Regions from separate parts of the Homo sapiens genome. Here all the other regions are linked to region 1. The links are contacts of gene promoters, found by promoter capture Hi-C in human tissues and cell types (Jung and others, 2019). All regions are on one chromosome and are shown on one strand. Each heading gives the region's core, a stretch centred on a gene start or on the middle of the fragment in contact. The rest is flanking DNA. Distances are from core to core; before and after follow the strand shown.

Region 1 (4,883 bases), core at 1,680-4,179:
CAGCCAAAGCCCACCAAAACCAAGTTGGCGACGAAAGTGACCTCTGCCACCCTGGGCAACACAGTGATACCCCATCTCTACAAAAAATACAAAAATTAGCTGATTGTGGTGGCCTGTGGCTGTAGTCTCAGCTACTCAGGAGGCTGAGCTGGGAGGATTGCTTGAGCCTGGGAGGCAGGGGCTGCAGGAAGGCAGAGAGGCTGCAGCGAGCTATGATTGCGCTGCTGCACTCCAGCCTGGGCGAGGGAGTGAGACTCTGTCTCAAAAAAAAAAAGAAAAGAAAAGAAAGTGACCTTATGTGGTCCTCACTACTTATTATACACTAATTATAAAGCATTAACATGCTAACAAACACTCCCACAAGCGCCATGGCAGTTTACAAATACCATGGCAATATCCAGACGTTACCCTATGTGGTATAACAAGAGGTAGGAACCCTCAGTTCTGGGAATTGCCTGCCCCTTTCCCAGAACACTCATGAATAATCCACCCCTTGTTTAGCACATAATCAAGAAATAACTATAAGTATACATTGTCAGGCAGACCATGCTGCTGCTCTGTCTATGGAGTAGCCATTCTTTTGTTTCTTTACTTCTGTAATAAACTTGCTTTTACTTTATGGACTCACCCTGAATTTGTTCTTACATGAGGTCCAAGAACTCTCTTTTGGGGTCTGGATTGGTACCCCTTTCTGGTAATAAGATTAAACTGACTCCAGGTGAGAGTTTCCCGCTAATGAAAATGAAGGTGTGGAGAGGAGGGGGAGTTTCCACACTGTGAGGAGAAGATGGGTGTATGTGAGGAAACCTTGGCCATGCCTCATCCCGATTCTTGCCCCACTGCAGGAGATCTGTCTCTCCCTCCTGGAGCAGTCATACATGGCCTTGTTCCCCTCCTGCCCTGAGACAAGGGGATGGCTTTGTGGGGGTGATAGACTCTTCGTGTCCTAAAGGTTTGCTGAAAACTAATTGATCTGAGGCAGATTGATTAATAGAAAAGAAGGCATGCAAATGTATTTAACATGTATACATGGGAACCTTCAGAATGAAGACACACCCAGCTATAAGACAGAGAAGATTATATAGCGACCTGAGGTCAGTAAATTAGGTTTAGTAGCAAGACAGCTTAGTAGACTGAGAAAGGAAGAGGCTTGGCTAGAGGTGGACTGTTACGTAGATGATGTCTCCCCCAGAGAATAGACTTTTTTCCTTTTTATGAGACAAGGTCTCACTCTGTCACCTAGGCTCGAGTGTAATGGTGCAATCTCTGCTCACTACAACCTCCGTCTTCTGGGTTCAAGCAATTGTCCTGCTTCAGCCCCCCGAATAGCTGGGATCACAGGTGTGTGCCACCAAACCCAGCTCATTTTTATATTTTTGGTAGAGATGGGATTTCGTCAAGTTGGCCAGGCTGGTCTCAAACTCCTGACCTCAAGTGATCCACCCACCTCGGCCTCCCAAAGTGCTGGGATTACAGGCATGAGCCACCATGCCTGGCCCTAATCTATTTACTTATCTTTTTGGTAGAGACCTGGTCTCACTGCGCCCGGCCACTGGTTTTTTGTTTTGTTTTGTTTTGTTTTTTTGAGACACAGTCTTGCTCTGTGGCCCAGGCTGGAGTACAGTGGTGCGATCTCTGCTCACTACAAGCTCCACCTCCCGTGTTCTCGCCATTCTCCTGCCTCAGCCTCCCGAGTAGCTGGGACTACAGGCGCCCACCACCACGCCCGGCTAATTTTTTTTTTGTATTTTTAGTAGAGACGGGGTTTCACCGTATTAGCCAGGATGGTCTCGATCTCCTGACCTCGTGATCCGCCCACCTCGGTCTCCCAAAGTGCTGGGATTACAGGCGTGAGCCACTGCGCCCGGCCAGCGCCCGGCCATTTAAAAAAATTTTAAATAATAAAGACAGGGATCGGCGGGCGAGGTGGCTCACGCCTGTAATCCCAGCACTTTAGGAGGCCGAGGCGGGCGGATCACCTGAGGTCGTGAGTTCGAGACCAGCCTGACCAACATGGAGAAACCCCGTCTCTACTAAAAATACAAAATTAGCGGGGCGTGGTGGCGCATGTCTGTAATCCCAGCTATTTGGGAGGCTGGGGCAGGAGAATCGCTTGAACCTGGGAGGCGGAGGTTGCAGTGAGCCAAGATCTCGTGCCACTGTGCTCCAGCCTGGGCGACAGATCGAGACTGTCTAAAAAAAAAAAAAAAAAAGAAAGAAAGACAGGGATCTCGCTGTGTTGATGATGTTGGCCTCAAACTCCTTGCTTCAAGGGATCCTTCCGCCTCAGTTTGCCAATGTGGTGGGATTATAGACATGAGTCACCATGTGCTACCTCTCTTCAGATTTTAAAGGTGTCAAACTCTCAATAGCTTTTAGATCAGGGAAAGGAAAAGAACGGGGGAGCTGGCAGTGCTTCATTAACGGAGATTCTCTACAAATGTAAATTTCCCCCTCAAAAGACAGTTTTGCAAGGCCACCTTTTGTTTGCTGGCCAAGCAGCAGCCATTTCAAAACTGTCAAAGAAATATATTTTGGCAGGGCAATATCTTGGGGCAAAATATTTTAATGTCTTTCACATTTTGTGGACACTGAATCTGGAATTCCCTGCACACTTGTGTCCCGTGTAGGATGAAGGGGCAGGGACGGCCCACGGAGTGAGGAAGACAACAGTGTCCCTTCTAGCAGTTCGGAGCAAGTTTGGCCGAAGGCAAATATTCGAAGTAAAGGTGGGAGGGAGGGAGGGAGCTGACCTTGGAAAGTGTGGCCAGAACCAGTCGCTTCGGCTCTGCAGCGCCCAGTTACCCGGGGCTTCTGCTGTCACTCAGGGAAGGGGGCGGAGTCTAGACCCCTATCCAATCAGGGGCGCTAGGGCGGGGCCCTGCCACTGTCCTCCAGGGAAGGGGAGGTTGCATTCCCGCTCTCTTCACTCCTAGGGCTGCTCGCGCTAGTTAAGGTCTGGGGCTTTCTTGCTCCGAGAGGGACCAGTTACTTCCGCCGTAGCTGCTGTTGCTCTGTCGACTGCGCTGTGACCTGCACTGTTCACGGGACCTTTAGAGAGGACGCCAGAATACCTGGAAGCCAGGAAATGGTGAGCATGCGGTGCTGGGGAGTCCCAAGGCGAAAGGAGGGACTGGGTGGAACCGAGAGGAACCCGCTGTGGCGGGGCCCGGGCCCCCCTGCAGCGACTCTGGGCTCCAGACACAGTCCCCCTAGCGCAGCTCGGCCCTCGGTCCCCTCGGCCGCTGGGTGGAGCTGGGCCGGCAGCCGGGACCCCGGGCGTCCTGTCCGGTCCCTGCGCGGCGACTGCGGCCCCGGCCCCGGCTCCCTCTCTGAGCAGCTCCGCGCCCGCAGCCCCGCGTCTCCCCAGATTGTGCGGTGACCATGGAAGGGTCATGGGGGATCCTGCCTCGGGTGTGGGGTTCGTGTGGGAGGAGCTGTGGGCTGTGGGGTCCCCAGTTCCTTTTTTTTTCCAGTTAAAAATTAAACTGAGGCACTGTTAAAAAATGAGAGTTTATTTTAGCAAACAGCGATTAATGAATGAGAAACTCCCAGTCCTGGCTTGTGGTTTGGTAACGGAAAAACCCAAATCGTGTAGAATAAGTTTATTCTGAGCCGAATAGGAGAGACCTCGGCTGAGGGAAACACAACCCCGCGAAGTCTGGAGTAAGCAATCCCGAGGCAGCTCCTGACAGTTTGGTTTTATTCATTTCAGGGAGACAGGAATTGCAGGAAAATGATGAATCAGTGCCGGGAAGGTGTAAGTTCCTTTGGCCGAAAGGCGGGACACATGGAAGCGGGGTTAGAAGGCACAGGTGGTGGAGGGATTCTGTAGGTGGCAGTTGGTTGAGAGTGTGTAAAGCTTTGTCTAAAATTTGGAGGCTGTAGGAAGGAGGGCTGTTATCTGCCACGTTATTCCATCCCAGTCCCCGCCCCCTTCCCCAAAAGACCTGTTTTTATTTTACCAGATTTTTATATTTTTGAGACGGAGTCTCGCTCCGTCGCCCCAGGCTGAAGTGCTGTGGCGCCATCTCGGCTCACTGCAACCTCCGCCTCCCGGGTTCAAGCGATTCTCTTGCCTCAGCCTCCCGAGTAGCTGGGACTACAGGCGCCAGCCACCACGCCCGGCTAATTTTTGTATTTTTAGTAGAAACGGGTTTCACCATATTGGCCAGGCTGGTCTTGAACTCCTCCTGACTTTGTGATCCGCCCACTTCGGCCTCCCAAGGTACTGGGATTACAGGCGTGAGCCACTGCGCCCGGCCAATTTTTGTATTTTTAGTAGAGACGGGGTTTCATGATATTGGCCAGGCTGGTCTCGAACTCCTGACCTCGTGATCCACCCTCCTCGGCCTCCCAAAGTGCTGGGATTACAGTGGAATGCCCCACTGCACTCCAGCCATGGTGAAAGAATGAGACTGTCTCAAAAAAAAAAAGTTAAGCTCCTTCTTATATAGGCAAAAAACAAAGAAATTTAATTATCGCAACAATTAGTACAACTAAATTAATTGTACAATTAATTTAATACAACTAATTAGTACAACTAAATTAATTATACAATTTAGTTACAGGTTTTTTTGTTTGTTTGTTTGAGACGGAGTTTCGCTCTTGTTGCCGAGACTGGAGTGCAATGGCGCAATCTCGGCTCACTGCAACCTCCGCCTCCCCGGTTCAAGCGATTCTCCTGTATCAGATTACAGGCGTGAGCCACCGCGCCCGGCCCAGGACTTTAAAATTTTCTTTGCAAGGGGTTTTAATTTCTTTTCTTTTCTTTTTTTTTTTTTTTTTTTTTTTGAGACGGAGTCTCACTCTGTCACCCAGGCTGGAGTGCAGTGGCGCGATCTCTGCTCACTGCAAGCTCCGCCTCCCGGGTTCACGCCATT
Region 2 (4,883 bases), core at 1,318-3,817, 360 kb after region 1:
CGTGATCCGCCCGCCTCGGCCTCCCAAGGTGCTGAGATTACAGGCGTGAGCCACCCCGCGCCCGGCCTCATCTTGTAATTTATCAGATCTATGGGCATGGAGTTAATATTCCTTTATGGTTCTTTTAATGTTCATGGAAATCTTAGAGATGCCCACCCTTTTGTGAGTTAGCATGGGTGTTTATCAATTTTATTCATTTCAGAAAACCAGGATTTGGATTTGTTGATGTTTTCCATTGATTTCCTGTTTGCAATTTCATTAATATCTTCTCTCGTTGTTTTCCTCTCCTTAATTTACATTTATCGTGCTCTTCTTTCTCTAGTTTCCTGGGGTGGAATTTACAGCATTGTTTTTTAGATCTTTACTTTCAAGAGTTTGCATTTAATTATTTAAATAGCTCTCTAAGCACTGCCTTTGCTGTATTCTACAAATTTTGCTAAAAGTTTTTTTCAATTTTTGGAATATTTAAGTATCTCTGGAGAATTCTGTCTGTTGCATAGTTTAGAAGTTTGTGGTTTAAATCTTTACTTTCTGGAGGCTTTTAAACTATGCTTCTGCTATTGATCTCTAGTTTAATGCTAATACGGTTTGATTTCGTATTTTATGGAATTTGATTTTTTTAAATTTGTTAAGGTATGTTTTATGCTATGTGGTCTGCCTTGGTGAATATTCCATGGTCTCCTGTTTCAGCCTCCTGAGTAGCTGGGACTACAGGTGCATGCCACCACACCCGGCTAATTTTTGTATTTTTAGTAGAGACAGGGTTTCACCATGTTGGTTAGGCTGGTCTCAAACTCTTGATCTCAGTTGATCCACCCACCTCGGCCTCCCAAAGTGCTGGGATTACAGGCATGAGCCGCCGCGCCCGGCCTGAATGTGTATTATCTATATACACCAGTAAAAAAGACAGGCACTGGCAGAGTAGAATTAAAAACAAGGCCCAGCAATGTGTAAAAGATAACCATTTTCAACAGAAAGACACAGATACCTTAAATAGAAAGGTATGGTGAAATATATGCCATTCTAGCCCTACTCAAAAGTATGGAACGGCTATATTAAATTCAGATAAATCAGGTTTTTTGGTTTATTTATTTATTTATTTATTTTTCGAGACAGGGTCTCTGGCACCCAGGCTGGGGTGCAGTGGTGTGATCACAGCAACCTGTGCCTCCCGAACTCAAGCAATCCTCCCACCTCATCTGGGACTACAGGCGTGTGCTACCATGCCTGGCTAATTTTTGTATTTATTTTTTGTAGAGACAGGGTCTCTCCATGTTGCTCAGCTGGTCTTGAGAACTCCTGGGCTCAAGTGATCCACCCATCTTGTCTTCCTGAGATGAATCACGAGGTCAGGAGATTGAGACCATCCTGGCTAGCATGGTGAAACCCCGTCTCTACTAAAAATATAAAAAATTAGCCAGGCGTGTTGGTGGGCACCTGTAGTCCCAGCTACTCGGGAGGCTGAGGCAGGAGAATGGCGTGAACCCGGGAGGCGGAGCTTGCAGTGAGCCGAGATGGCACCACTGCACTCCAGCCTGGGCGATGGAGCGAGACTCCATCTCAAAAAAAAAAAAAAATACACATTCAAAGTGGTAATTGACATAGATTAATATGTTCATATATATTGTTTGTTGTACTTGTGCTTTTTTTCTACTTGCTCTATTTTTCTGCCTTTTAATTGAGCGTTCTATATGATTCCATTTGCTTGCTTCTATTAGTGTAGTAAGTCTACTTGTTTCTTAAATTTTATTAGTGAATTCCATAGTTTGCAGTATACATTTGCAACTAATGGACTTTCATTTTCAAATAACACTATACTGGTGTCTGGGGTAGTGCCAATATGTTAAGAGTGTTCTGAATTCCTCTTTCCAATCCCATATAATATCACTGTCACGCATTTGACCTGTTAGAAGCTATAACCACCCAATACATTGTTGATATTCATTTGAACAAACATTTATCTATGAAGGAGAAGAAAAGATAATCATATTTGTGCCCTCATTTAATTATTTTCTAACAAGTTTTATTTCTGAAACATCTGCTTTCCTAACCTGTATCAGTTTCCTTCGCTCTGAAGAACTTTAACATGACTGGCAAGGCAGGTATACTAGTAACACATTCTCTCAATTTCTTTCCTCTTTCTTTTCCACAGACTGGTAATTTTTTTCTTTCTTTTTTTTTTTTTTTTTTTTTGAGATGGAGTTTCACTCTCGTTGCCCAGGCTGGTGTGCAATGGCGTAATCTCGGTTCACTGCTACCTCCACCTCCTTGGTTCAAGCTATTCTTCTACCTCAGCCTCCCAAGTAACTGGGATTACAGGCATGCACCACCACACCCAGCTAATTCTGTATTTTTAGTAGAGACAGGGTTTCTCCATGTTGGTCAGGCTGGTCTCGAACTCCCGACCTCAGGTGATCCACCCACCTGGACCTCCCAAAGTGCTGGGATTACAGGTGTGAGCCACCGCGCCTGGCCCAGACTGGATAATTTTAATTGTTTCATCTTCACAGTTGCTGATTCTTTGTTATGTTAGCAAGTAGTGAATTGGCTCACTTCCAGATGTACACACAAGCCAATAGCATGGCACCAGCTTTTGAAGAAAGAAAAGCTTTACTACAAGTTTGACTGGCAAGGAGAAAGGAAGAAATGCTCAAATATGTCTCCCTGAGCTGGGGGCTTTGGCAAGTTTTATAAGCGTGGGGTAATAAGACATGAACTCACTGCATCTTGCAATGATCTCATGCCAGGTTAATGTGACTCGATTGGATCCTGCCATGGGATGATACCGGGGCCCAACCTGATTAGATCCTAGATTCCACCATGTGGTATCTTTTTTTTTTTTTTTTTTTTGAGACAGAGCCTCACTCTGTAGCCCAAGCTGGAATGCAGTGGCATGATCTCGCTCACTGCAACCTTCACCTCTGGAGCTCAAGCAATTCTGCCTCAGCCTCCCAAGTAGCTGGGACTACAGGTGTGCGCCACCACACCTGGTTAATATTTTGTATCTTTCACAGAGACAGGGTTTTACCATGTTGCTCTGGGTGGTCTTGAACTCTTGAGCTCAGGCAATCCACCCACCTCAGCCTCCCAAAGTGCTGGGATTACAGGCATGAGTCACCGTGCCCAGCATCTACTTTTTACTTTAATCTCCACACCTCAGTCCAAGCATATAGGTTCCACCCATGGTTACACATTTGGTTCATCTGGGCATGCTCAGATTATGTGACCTTGAGTGTTGGGTCCATGGCAACTGAAAACTCAGCTTTGTTATATAGAAGTTGTACCACATAATCTGTTGTGGTTACAAATCCCTCCTATTATGTTCATTCCTAAGTCTTGAAGGAAAAGGAATGATAACTGCTCTAACTACTTTCTGCTGATTAGAGTCATAGACCTTAGAGGAATGAAAGTATTTAGTGCTTTGCTCTGGGAGTTCCCTGGTATCAGCCAGGTGCGGTGGCTCACGCCTGTAATCCCAGCACTTTGGGAGGCCGAGGCACGTAGATCACAAGGTCAGGTCGATTGAGACCATCTTGGCCAACAGGGTGAAACCCCATCTCTACTAAATGACAAAAAATTAGCTGGGCGTGGTGGTGCGCACCTGTCTCTCAGCCACTTGGGAGGCGGAGCTTGCAGTGAGCTGAGATCACGCCACTGCACTCCAGCCTGGGCAACAGAGCAAGACTCCGACTCAAAAAAAAAAAAAAAAAAAAAAAAAAAAAGGAGTTCCCTGGTATCAAGATCACATTTTAGAAGGCGTTATTTCTACATAGTTCTGGGGAAAAGGCATAAGGAGTTTGCAACCTAAACATTATTTGTTCCAGAGAACAAGGGAAAGCTTAGGTTTTATAGCAAAAGTTCCCATCTGGGTTCCTAGTCAAGTGCTTTTATGCAAATGAAGATCTGAAACTTGAAACTCAGTTCTGATTGGTTGATACAGCTGAGCTCTGATTGACTAGCTCAGGTGAGCCCCCAAAGTTAAAAAGGTGTTGGTTTTCAGGAAACTCACAGTGCTTGTGACCCCTAGTTAACAAGTGGCGGCTTAGCTCTTTTTAAAACTTAGGCCCAGTTAGCCAGTGTGAAGGACTGACTCTAACCCGTCCACAGACAGCATTCATAAGTTTTTGTGTGTGTTCTATCATGGTACCAGTGACCTGCTGTGGGTCCATCCCATGCAGGGATCCTAATGGCAGGGCAGTGGCCAGTTGGGCAACTATAGCCATTTACTTATAAGAGGTTCTCAGGAACCTGTTAAATTTTAGCCAAAATCTCTTGGGTTAAGTTGGTTTCAGTGGCCAGCTGGAGTGAGTTTAAAATCTCAAGTATTAGGTCAGCAAGAACCTAGTGGGGGTCTCTTGGAGGCATCTGTTGAAACAAGATAGAACAATTTTAAAGAGGAGCCAAATGCATATTTTAAATAGGATCATTGAGACTTGTAGGGCAGAATGGAGAAGAAATCCTATACCAGGGGAAGAGCCAGCTGAAAATATCTGGAAATTGGAAATGTAACCCAGTAAGTCTAGACAGGAGGGTTTCTGAAGGTGTCCCTTTCAGAGATTTGGCTGGTTTTAAGATCTTATATGTTCCCAATTCAGTCTGACTGGAAGTATTTTACCCAGATGCAGAAGCAAGGGTTAGCACAGACACTACCCTGTAAAGTAGGGAGATAGCTGCAATGTGGTTGTCTAGGGCCATGCAGGCAAGGGAACCTAGAGACTTCTCTTGTGTCCTGATGGCTTCGGTGGTGAAATGGGCAACTCTACTAATGATACAAGAAAGATTTCTGGTTAGATATCCATTCCAAGTAGAACCTAGACTTAACCATGACCCCAGAAACTTTCCTAATCTAGCTCCTCCACTAGGGTTAATCGCTCTGGGTAAAC
Region 3 (4,883 bases), core at 1,627-4,126, 260 kb before region 1:
GGAGATCGACCTCATAAATGTAAGATATGTGGGAAAGGCTTTGATCGTCCCAGTTTAGTTCGATATCATGAACGAATTCACACTGGAGAGAAACCCTATGAATGCAAGCAGTGTGGGAAAACGTTATCTCATAGCTCAAGCTTTCGAAGACACATGATAATGCACACTGGAGGTGGACCTCATAAATGCAAGATATGTGGGAAAGCTTTTGTTTATCCTAGTGTATGTCAAAGACACGAAAAGTCTCACAGTGGAGAGAAACCCTATGAATGCAAGCAGTGTGGGAAAGCGTTATCTCATAGCTCAAGCTTTCGAAGACATATGGTAATGCATACGGGAGATGGGCCGAATAAATGCAAGGTATGTGGGAAAGCCTTTGTTTATCCCAGTGTATGTCAAAGACATGAAAAGACTCACTGGAGAGAAACAATATGAATGTAAACTATTATAAAGCCTTCTATATTTCCAGTTCCCTTTGATATCATGAATAAACTTACACTGGACAGAAACCCTATAAATGTAAATGTGGGAAAGCCTTTCATAATTTTTATTCCTTTCAAAATCATGAAATATCTCACACTGGAGAGATGCTGTATGATATAAGGAATGTGGGAAAGTGATCGATTTTTTTTTAACACCATTGTCAACATAAAACAACTCACAGAGCAGAAAAACTCTGTGAGTGTAAAATATGTAGGGAAGCCTTCAGTCATTTTGGTAACTTAAAAGTACATGAGGCTGGGCACAGTGGCTCACGCCTGTAATCCCAGCACTTAGGGTGGGCAAATTGCTTGACCTCAGGAATTTGAGGCCTGCCTGGGCAAAATGGTGAAACCATGTCTCTACAAAAAATAGAAAAAGTAGCAGGTGTGGTGGTATGCCCCTGTAGTCCCAGCTACTTGGGAGGCTGAGGTGGGAAGATCTCTTGAGCCCAAGGGGTGGGGGTTGCAGTGAGCCAAGATGCACTGCACCCCAGCCTGGGCGACAGAGCCAGACCCTGTCTCAAAAAAAAAAAAAAAGTACATGAAAGGATTCACTCTGGAGAGAAGTCATATGAATGTAAGAAATGTAGAAAAGCATTGAGTTCTCTCAGGTCCTTGCATAGACATAAAAGGACTCACTGGAGAGATACTCTATAAATGTGTGAAATGTAGGGAAGTATTCTTTAATGTTATTTCATTTCAGATAGAAATAATTCTCATTGGAGATAAACCCTATGAATGTAAACACATAGTAAAGCCTTAATTTTAAGCCTCAGTTTCTTTCAAATACAGTTATCCCCTAATATTTGCAGGAGCGTGGTTCTACCACCCCCTGGGCATACATAAATCGACACATGCCAAGTCCTTTTTTAAAAATGACATATTTGGTACAAAATTACCCGGATGTGATGGCACATGCCTGTAATCCCAGCTACTCAGGAGGCTGAGGCAGGATAATCACTTGAATCCGGGAGGCGGAGGTTGCGGTGAGCCAAGATCGCGCCACTGCACTCCAGCCTGGGCAGCAAGAGCAAAACAACCTCTGTCACACACACAAAAAAAAAAAAAAAGGAAAGAAAGAAAAGACATATTTGGGTTAGACACAGTTGCTCACCTCTGTAATCCTAGCACCTTAGGAGCCCAAGACAGGTGGATCACTTGAGCCCAGGAGTTAGAGGCCAGCCTGGGTAATGTGGCAAAACCCTGTCTCTACAGAAGATACACAAATTAGCCAGGTGTGGTGACATGTACCTGTAGTCCCAGCTACTAGGGAAGCTGAGGTGGGAGGATCGCTTGAGCCTGGGAGGTTGAGGTTGCGGTGAGTCAAAATCACATCACTGCATTCTAGCATGGGCAACAGAATGAGACCCTGTCTCAAAAAAATAATAACAATAAAAAATATTTGCATGTAACCTACCCACATCCTCCTGTATACTCTAAATCATCTGTAGATTAGTTAAAATACATCATGCATCATAGAAGCTATGTAAATAGTTGTTATTATATTGTTTAGTGAATCATGATATGAGAAAGACCCTACACATATTCAGTACAGACCCACCCACATAATACATGTCACCTAGAGCATTATAAATCTTTTCTTTCAACACTCATAGATTGCTTTTGTTTAATGACCTGAAAATGTGTTAACATTCACCCAACAAAAGTGTAATGATGATTATTGCAATATCGTGCCTAATGTTGTGATGTGTTGAGTCAGCTAGATGTGTGACACCACAGATAAGCAGTGAGACCTCAGGCTAACTCGAATCTTGACAGGATGTCAACATGATCAACTATATTGGAAGAAACAGATTCTGACTGCAGATACTGAATTTTTGGAGCAGTCTAAATAATACTAATGTCAGAATCTGTTCAATTTGAGGACTGAAGATCTTTAAGCATTGAAGGCTGTCTTCATATTTGCAGATATTTAATTAGAAACATTGTAGGAAGCTAGTTTTTTTTTTTTTAAACTTTGCAACGTTTGTGAGCATGTAATCTCTGGGGTGACATGGAGGCTTTGTTCCATGGAAGAATCTTAATTGAGGATGATAATCTTTAACACTTGCGCCTTGTAGAAGCTGTAGGTGCCCTAAAACTGCTTCCAATTTTTCTTTTTTTTTCTTTTTCTTTTCTTTTTTTTTTTTTTTAAGACAAGATCTCACTCTGTCACCCTACAGTGCATGGCTCACTGCAGCCTCAACTTCCTGGGCTCAAGTGATCTTCCCACCTCAGCCTCCCAAGTAGCTGGGATTATAGGCACACATCACGATGCCTGGCTACTTTTTGTGTTTTTTGTGGAGACAAGGTTTCACCATGTTTCCCAGGCTGGTCTTGAACTCCTGGAATCAAGAGATCTGCCTGCCTTGGCCTCCCAAATTACTAGGATTACAGGGTGAGCCACCACACCCAGCCTTCAGATTTTTCAAGTATCAAAATCTATAGCACTGCTTCTTTTTTTTTTTTTCAGACAGAGTCTCACTCTGTCGCTGAGGCTGAAGTGCAGTGGTGCAATCTCAGCTCACTGCAGCCTCCACCTCCCAGGTTCAAGTGATCCTCCTGCATCAGCCACCTGAGGAGCTGGGATTACAATCTCAGCTCACTGCAACCTCCACCTCCCAAGTTCAAGTGATCCTCCTGCCTCAGCCACCCAAGTAGCTGGGAATACAGGCATGCACCACCATGCCCAGCTAATTTTTGTATTTTTAGTAGAGACAGGGTTTCGCCATGTTTGCCAAGCTGGTTTTGAACTCCCTGTGACTTCAAGTGATCTGCCTGCCTTGGCCTCTCAGAATGCTGGGATTACAGGCATGAGCCACCACTTATGGCACTGCCTCTTTATTTATTTATTGAGACTGAGTCTCACTCTGTCACCCAGGCTGGAGTGCAGTGGCACGATCTCGGCTCACTGCAAACACTGCCTCCTGGGTTCAAGCGATTCTCATGCCTCAGCCTCCCAAGTAGCTGGGATTACAGGTGCCCGCCACCACACCCAGCTAATTTTTGTATTTTTAGTAGAGACGGGGTTTCACCATGTTGGCCAGGCTGGTCTTAAACTCGTGACCTCAGGTGATTCACCCGCTTCGGCCTCCCAAACTGTTGGGATTACAGGCGTGAGCCACCACGCCTGGCGGCACTGCCTCTTCTAAATCTACATCATCATCATCATCATCTATAGAGGATTTCAGCATATCTTCTAGTTCCTTGTTAGTAAAGGTTTCTTCTTTGCTCTTCTGTGTGTTCCTCAACATTGTCTTCACTTGTGTCAGAGATAGCCTTCCCCACCAACTTTCCTTACATTTAAGATATTTCTGACTATCATATCGATAGTGCAGAAGCGCCTGAAATCATTGACTTCCTCACTCCATAATGGCTTCCAACACACTTTGGCTGTCTTGAGCTGTAGGGCATTTACAGCCTCCGCAATAAACACAATCGTTTCTGCAGTTGGGAAGCTCTTCCATAAATCCTGTATGACATGGTGAGGGTTATTATCAAGACAGCATAAATCCTTCCAAAAGTCCAGTGGGTGTAAGACACCTTGAGGCACTTGATGATGCTTTGATCAAGTAGTTGTAGCAGTGATGTAGTTTTAGGAGGCAGGAACATCACTTCCCCATTTTTATCGGCATAACAGAGAGAAGAGAGATGCCAGGAGCGTTGTCAGTTATGAGGAGGGCCTTGAGTGGCAGCCCCTTCTTTTCAAGGTATTCATTCACATCAGGAATGAAGCAGTGGTAGAACCAAGTCCTCGTGTGTTTTTGTCAGGACACGGGCAGGCAAGTTTCGCTTTTGTTTTCAAGGACCCACGGATTGTTTACTTAGTAGAGGAGGCTTTGTTTGATCTTATGACCTGCTGCATTGCCACGTAGCACCAGAGTAAGGCAATCTTTCCAAGTCATGAACCCCAAGGCTTTCTTTGTACTCTTGTGATGAAGGTACAATTGGGCATCCTCTTCCAGAACATGCCTGATTCATTACAATGGAGGATTTGCTCTGGAAGTTAGCCTCTTTTTTTTTTTTTTTTTTAATGAGTTTCATGAGCTTTTCTAGGAATGCTGATGTTTCCTTTGCATCAGCCAAGGCCAATTCTCCCATGTTCTTCAAGTTCTTGAAGCTCTAATGCATTGTGTAGCTAGCTAAGCCAGACCTTGCTGGCCTGAAACTCCTTCCTGTAGATCTTTTTTTTTTTTTTTGAGATGGAGTTTTGCTCTTGTTGCCCAGGCTGGAGTGCAATGGCGCTATCTTGGCTCACCACAATCTCTGCCTCCCAGGTTCAAGTGATTTCTTCTTCCTCAGCCTCCTGAGTAGCTGGGATTACAGGCATGTGCCACCACACCCAGCTAATTTTGTATTTTTAGTAGAGACAGGGTTTCTCCATATTGGTCAGGTTGGTCT

The links. Contacts are between HindIII fragments. The study calls those that stand out against the background at their distance.
Region 2: a fragment that was not itself captured here is called in contact with the fragment with the promoter of ZNF878 in region 1 in 1 of the 25 tissues and cell types used here (lymphoblastoid cells).
Region 3: a fragment that was not itself captured here is called in contact with the fragment with the promoter of ZNF878 in region 1 in 3 of the 25 tissues and cell types used here (hippocampus, mesenchymal stem cells and stomach).

The regions. Positions count from the first base shown.
Region 1 is chr19:12,051,007-12,055,889 of GRCh38, reverse strand. ZNF878 (zinc finger protein 878) reads left to right here and starts at 2,929. Exons shown (of 4, transcript NM_001080404.3): 1 at 2,929-3,091. The coding sequence starts at 3,089. RefSeq lists an enhancer at 2,590-3,095 and a silencer at 3,284-3,333. The HindIII fragment of the contact is 7,236 bases long and covers 1-4,883 here.
Region 2 is chr19:11,686,899-11,691,781 of GRCh38, reverse strand. No RefSeq gene overlaps it. Among named protein-coding and RNA genes, the nearest start is that of ZNF823, 50 kb to the left of the region's middle. The HindIII fragment of the contact is 6,716 bases long and covers 1-4,883 here.
Region 3 is chr19:12,314,146-12,319,028 of GRCh38, reverse strand. ZNF563 (zinc finger protein 563) reads left to right here. Exons shown (of 4, transcript NM_145276.3): 4 at 1-1,552. The coding sequence ends at 435. Among named protein-coding and RNA genes, the nearest start is that of ZNF563, 17 kb to the left of the region's middle. The HindIII fragment of the contact is 6,161 bases long and covers 1-4,883 here.